Regions from separate parts of the Homo sapiens genome. Here region 2 is linked to region 1. The links are contacts of gene promoters, found by promoter capture Hi-C in blood cells and fetal thymus (Javierre and others, 2016). All regions are on one chromosome and are shown on one strand. The core of a region is centred on a gene start or on the middle of the fragment in contact, and the rest is flanking DNA. Distances in the headings are between cores, read along the strand shown. Region 1 holds the start of CUL9 (cullin 9). Region 2 overlaps UBR2 (ubiquitin protein ligase E3 component n-recognin 2).

What was found. The method cuts DNA at HindIII sites, captures the fragments that hold promoters and counts their contacts. A CHiCAGO score of 5 or more calls a contact.
Region 2: a contact is called between a fragment that was not itself captured here and the fragment with the promoter of CUL9 in region 1, in 1 of 17 cell types (fetal thymus). The highest score is 5.5, in fetal thymus.

Annotation. Positions count from the first base shown.
Region 1 is chr6:43,180,535-43,183,638 of GRCh38, reverse strand. CUL9 (cullin 9) reads right to left here and starts at 1,443. Exons shown (of 41, transcript NM_015089.4): 1 at 1,390-1,443. It overlaps SRF (serum response factor), which reads right to left. Exons shown (of 7, transcript NM_003131.4): 7 at 2,133-3,104. RefSeq lists silencers at 1,243-1,292, 1,313-1,452 and an enhancer at 1,703-1,772. The HindIII fragment of the contact is 6,829 bases long and covers 1,165-3,104 here.
Region 2 is chr6:42,659,732-42,662,935 of GRCh38, reverse strand. UBR2 (ubiquitin protein ligase E3 component n-recognin 2) reads right to left here. Exons shown (of 47, transcript NM_001363705.2): 30 at 3,081-3,204; 31 at 659-752. Among named protein-coding and RNA genes, the nearest start is that of PRPH2, 61 kb to the left of the region's middle. The HindIII fragment of the contact is 3,115 bases long and covers 1-2,858 here.

The sequences.
Region 1 (3,104 bases), core at 194-2,693:
GTGACAGTTAAGCAAGACAGTTTAGGCAGGATAGCAGGGTGGCTGAGGGTTACAGATTAGGACTTAGAAGAATGACATGGGTGGACAGGAAGGACAGCAGCATGTGAGGCAGTGGGATCAGAACATGTGAGGAAAAGTAGGATAGCGGAGGGGCAGGACAGGGAGCATAAATGACAGAGTAAAGCTGCAAGGTGGATGTAAAGGGTGGGCCATGGCAGATATAGAGAATGGAGATGACAAAAGGCTGGGATGTTGGGGCAAATGACTGGATAGGAAAAGTATATTCGAGTCTTGTGAAAGGGGGAGGGCCCTAGGGACCAGATAAAATTATGGGAAAGATGACCAGGTCCCACCCTGCCCTTATACTGCATGTATGGTAAGGATTTAAGTAAGTTAAGTAGATAAGATAGAGGTGGTAATCATGGGGTTAAAGGTAGGAAATGAGGTCAGGAGAGAAGCAATATTCAGAGACTTCAGTATCAGATAAATGTGACTCTGAATTCTGGCTTTCTGTCTCACTGTCTGCATAGTTTGGAACAAGTTACTTAACCTCTGAGCTTGTTTCCTCTTCTGCAAGATGGTAGTAATATTCATAGTTACTTCATGAATTTAGTAGGATCATGTATGTAAAGCACTTGGAACAGCATCTAGCACATAAAGAGTGTTCAGTAAACATAATCTGTTATTATTCTTAGATGGAGAAGGTAGGGGAGTCATCAAATAAATGCAAAGTTATTAAGACCGATTATAAATGGGAGTGGAATAATCAGGAAAGATATGCGTGATATGAAGCAGTGCAGGGGCAACAGGGAATAGTGAGAATAAGAATGGAAGAAGGTAAACCCAGATGAAGATATAGTGGTCAGGGCAGGGGTCATGTTGGGGTACAGGGACAGAAGATGAGAGTAGAGGTGAAGAGGAGGGAGAAAGATGGATGTGGACCTCAATGGAGGTAGGGGTCCACTTAGGATGGGGGGCAAGCCTGGATGGTAGCCAGCGATGTGCCAGCGGGCAACTGATTAGCAGCAGGGGGAAGTAAAAGAATCGGATAGGAGGAGGTAGGAGGTGTAACGTCGGCCTAGAAGAGCAACAATAAACTGAGGTGTGGGGGTGAGCTCTGGACGCATGGATGAGACCAGCAGATAGCAAGGTCAAGCCCAAGCTTGCAGAGCCGTGGGGAGGTGGAGGAGGCCAGCACCGCAGAGGGAACGGGTTTGGGGGGAGGGGGAAGGATGGTTGGGGGCGCGGTCCAAAAAAGCTGAAAAGATCCAGTGAATCTCAGAGAGCAAGACCTGGTTCCCTTCGTCAGCCCCATGGACAGTGGCTAAAGGACCGGGGAGGGGACAGGAGAAGGGGAGGGATTGGGTCGGCGCAGAACTCTCCTCTCACCTCCCACCGCCCGGCTCAGCCCTCGCTGGGACCCAGCGGCCGGTCCCGCCGTCCTGGCCCCGCCTCCTCAGAGCTCCCTTCCGGGTCACACGGCGAGTGCACGCACGGCCGGGCACCTACGGGTCCCACCGCGGCCCACGCCGAGCGTGGCGGAACAGCGCGCGAGTGGAGCATGCGTGCTACCGCGGGCGGCTGCACTGGAAGAGGGGCGTGGGGGCGCGCTACCGGAGGAGCCTGGGATCGAGGTCACGTTGCTCCTCTCTCAGCAGCAGGAAGAAGCCGTTTCCATCCAGTCAACTGTGAAGCCCCCTCCTCTTCACTGGGTCGGCCCTCCTAATCCTCCCTCTCCCATCACAGCGATCATGCTGACGAAACATGGTAACCCACATTCCCACCTTAAGGCTGCCCTTTTTGACTTTTCAGTAGGTCAGGTGCCCATGAGTTTCCCAAACCCTTCAGCAATGCTTTGGATTAGTTGTGTCACTTTTCCTGTTAATTAAAATTTGCTCCTCTGCGTTGGCCTTAACACCTAGCGAAGCCACGCACAGGGAGAAGGTCCTCGGCCCCGCAAAACTTTCCTTAAATTAAATCGTATAGAATTAAACAGCCCAAAGCACACCTTAGCATTACCGTTCTCATCAAGCAGCCCGGATCGCTACTCAGAGCAGCAATTTTAGGAGTTTGCCTCGCGTTCATACCCCCATCCCTCCCTAAGTAGAAAAACAGAACCAAAGACCCCACAGTCTGTGCACAAAAATGATACATTTATTGAAAGAGTATTTTTTTTTAATACAAAAGAAAGCTCTGTACATAGGACTGTGACCATGTCCACTATTCCTGGGTCAGCATCCCAGGGGAAGTAGAAACCACTGACATACACACTCACATTCAAGCACACACACTCACTCAGGCGCACACACCCACACACACATACCCCAGAGCCACCGAGGAAGGGAAACACCAAGGGTCGCTGCACATAAAAATATCACCTCAACTCATCCCTGACACACGCATGTCCTCCCAAGGCCACGCTCACACAACACACATTATAAGCACTTTGCCTGATTCACTCACTGGGTCTGTCTTTTGTGGGAAGGAGAGGAAGAATTCATCAAAGGTCTCCTCCCCATGGGTGGGGGAGTGGGGAGTGAGTGAGTGATGGTGGAGTGAAACAAGAGCAGAGAAAAGGGGCTGGGCAGTTACAGACCTGAGTCCCAAGCTCCCCTGCTCTCTGGCCCCTGATTTGCCATGCCCCAGCCTTGAAAGCCACCCATAAGCCCCAGCTATCTCCAGGAGAAAGCCCAGAAAGGTGACTTCCATCTTGGCACCCCAAACTGGGGCAAGACAGCAATGAGGGTTAGAGGTTAGGGGGTTCTCAAACATGTCGGCAAATCATCCCCTTGATAACTAGGCTGTGCATAAAATCTTCCCCCATCCCTTCACCTAATCACAGAAGCCAGCTTGTTCCTACTGAAGGCAGTCTTAGGGGTTAAGAAAATTTCACCCCACTGCTGCCCTGTTTCTGAAAAAGCTCCCCTTCTGGATATAGGTGGTGAAGGTAGGCTCTGACACAGGGTAAAAGACCCTCCCCCCTATGCTGGCCCACCCTCAAGGTCTACCCCAAAGGGGGAGGAGGGGGGTGGGGCATGGCCCCTGTACAAATTACATAAATACTGAGGTTACACTTAGAAAAATAAAGTCATTTTCTTCAAGGC
Region 2 (3,204 bases), core at 52-2,551, 520 kb after region 1:
TGAGATGGAGTCTTGCTCTGTCGCCCAGGCTGGAGTGCAGTTGCACAATCTTGGTTCACTGCAACCTCCACCTCCCACATTCAAGCAATTCTCCTGTCTCAGCCTCCCAAGTAGCTGGGACTACAATGTGGTGGCTAGTTGTTAGGGGTAGTTCATGATAACTGGGTGAGCATAGTTCTAGAATAATAGTATTATTGATTTGTTGGTTTTGTAGAAGCATAGGAAACACCAAGGTAGAACAAATTCAGGACATCTCATCACAGGGAGCCATTACAATTTTGGGAAGTAACAAAGCAAGTACTAACATCTATGGAATCAAAAGTTGTCCACCCTGGACCCAAAGAAAGACAACATTACCCTTCTAGAGTTTATCCTACTGTAAAAACCCTTTTCTTCATCCACAGACTGATACAGATCCACTTCCTTCTTTGGAAGATATAGAAGAGACTTGGATATAAAGCTAAATTAAAAAACATATCTGACATACACTTTACATCTATGACAAGGCAAATAACTTTTGTTATTTATTAGGCAATGATACGGATTTTTTCAACATTTTTAGTTCTTTTCCTTTTTTCTAGAATGAAATTTCCTCTATTTAAAAAATATTGAGCCCTTAGATAAACTTCTCTTGACAAATATTAAGAATATACATTACCTTTGCCAACAATGGGCATGCATAATGTGCCCACAGCTACTAGTGTGTGTTCCACAAGACAGATCAGGGTGCATGAATAATGGATCATATTTTTCTGCATTACAAAACAAAACAAAACAAAACAAAAGTGAAGCATTTAATTTTCCTATAACAAATGTGTAACTTTAAATTGTAAAATCCTTGATAAAGACTTGAAATTTGAAATGAAATGCTAGTTTATTCCTCTGAGATACCAATTTATGCAACACCTTGGATTATTTAGAAAGTAGGACTCTCTAATTTTCACCACCCACAGCAAATTAATTAAACATTCTCAAATTGTTAAACTGAAATTAGAACTATGAATTTAAATATATCCAATCTTTTGAACATTTCACACTTTCAGGGTGCTGAGATATTCCAATTCCTCCCATTGTACCCTGAGCTCCAGGTAAAAGAGCTACTCTCTTCATGGGGCTGCCTTATGTGCGTTCAGGGCAGCTGGGTTAAAATGATCGCTAATAAAAAATGTTTTGGCAGTAACGGGGCGCCCCCTAGAGGACAGACTGCCTAACAACACTCATACAGCGAATAATCACATCAGAGCCAAAGTGACAACAAAAAATCTAAGCACAGACCAGATCAGATGGGGGGAAAAAAGGTAATTCAGAGTCTTCTGTCCTGGTGCTAATTTTTATATTCAAAGGGGATGAAAAATCATGAAAAACAAGATGGATGTCTGGCTTCTTTTGGAATTTTTGAATTCTTTATATAAATTAGTATAATCTTCGAAATTTCCTAACACTCTAGAAAGAACTACTTTTAATTTGCTTTAATAGTTTTAATTTGCTTTAACACTAGAACAGTGCAAATGTCAAAGCATTAAGAAAATCCACTTATAGCCAGCTAATGCTTTTTCTTCAGAAGTAATAAGTTAAATAAAATTAGCAACTTTGTCTTTGGCCTGGAATGAAATTTATAAAGCACCTAGTTTAAATATCTTTTTTTTTTTTAAGACAGTCTCGCTTTGTCGCCCAGATTGGAGTGCAGTGGCGCGATCTCGACTCACTGCAAGCTCTGCTTCCTGGGTTCACGCCATTCTCCTGCCTCAGCCTCCCGAGTAGCAGGTAACTGCCACCACGCCTGGCTAATTTTTTTTTGTATTTTTTAGTAGAGATGGGGTTTCACTGTGTTAGCCAGGATGGTCTTGATCTCCTGACCTTGTGATCTGCCTGCCTTGGCCTCCCAGAGTGCTGGGATTACAGACATGAGCCACTGCGCCTGGCCTTTTTTTTTTTTTTTAAAAACAAACAAACAAACAAACAAAAAAACCACACAGGGTCTCGCTCCGTTGCCCAGGCTGGAGGGCAGTGGTGCAATCTCGGCTCACTGCAACCTCTGCCTCCCAGGTTCAAGCAATTCTCATGCCTCAGCCTCTTGAGTAGCTGGGACTACAGGCGCGTGCCACCAAATTTGGCTAGTTTTTTTTTTGTACTATTAGTAGAGATGGGGTTTCGCCATGTTGGCCAGGCTGGTCTTGAACTCCTGACCTCAGGTGATCCACCTGCCTCGGCCTCCCAAAGTGCTGGGATTACAGGCATGAGCCACCATACCCAGCCTAAATGACCATTTTTAAAGATGAAGCAGACCAACCTTTCATAAGTAGGATGCAAAGACTTTCTTTACAGAGAGAAGGCAACTCTAAAAGTGGGCTCTCAAACCTCCTTTCACGCTGCAGTGTGAAAGGCACTGGTTAAAGCAGTGCTCTGGGAATTCCCAAGACACAGTTCCTACTCTCAAGAAGTTTACTGGGTATCGCTGAAGCACACGCACACAGAGCACAACCTACAAGCAGAGAAATAAATGTGTCTGTGGTGGACAAAATCATGTGCGGACTGGATCTCCCTGCTTTACTCCCTCAGTTGCTGAAAGAGGGCCCTCAACTGTCCTGCACGGTAATCTGTATCCCAAGAATCTGCTTTCTGGGGAACCCGATCTGTGGTGGTATTACTATTCTAAAACAATTTGGCTCAAGGATTGCCTCTTACATAGGTAACTCTCCATCACTGTTCTCAGGAGATTCCACTCAGGCTCTATCAATAAGACAAAACAATTATTATTTCAGTGTGTCAACAAATGACCAGGACTTTGCAAGTGTACTGAAGGATGGAAAAGACTGTGAAATGCCAAAGTATGTAATGTTACATCACAAAGAAAAGCTTTTCTTTGAATCCCTGCTATTTATCAGCTATGTGATTCAGGTGCAACTTTCTGGAGTGGTTCCACATCTGCCAAGTGGGGAATTCCTGCCTAAGTTACCTGCCAAAGATACCATCCAAGTCCATGGAGTTATTTTTAGGTTTAAAAAATCTCAACGTATCACCAACCACATTAACTGGCAGTTGTTATTAAAAGGGAAGATGAGGATCTAGCTATGACTTACCTGGATCTTGAATAAATTTACTTCTGTTTTTTGATAATACAGTTGATCTCTGAACAAATGCTGCCAAGACCATTGCCCTGCTTTCCACTTTAACTTCTTGCTCCTCTTGACACAATATACATGT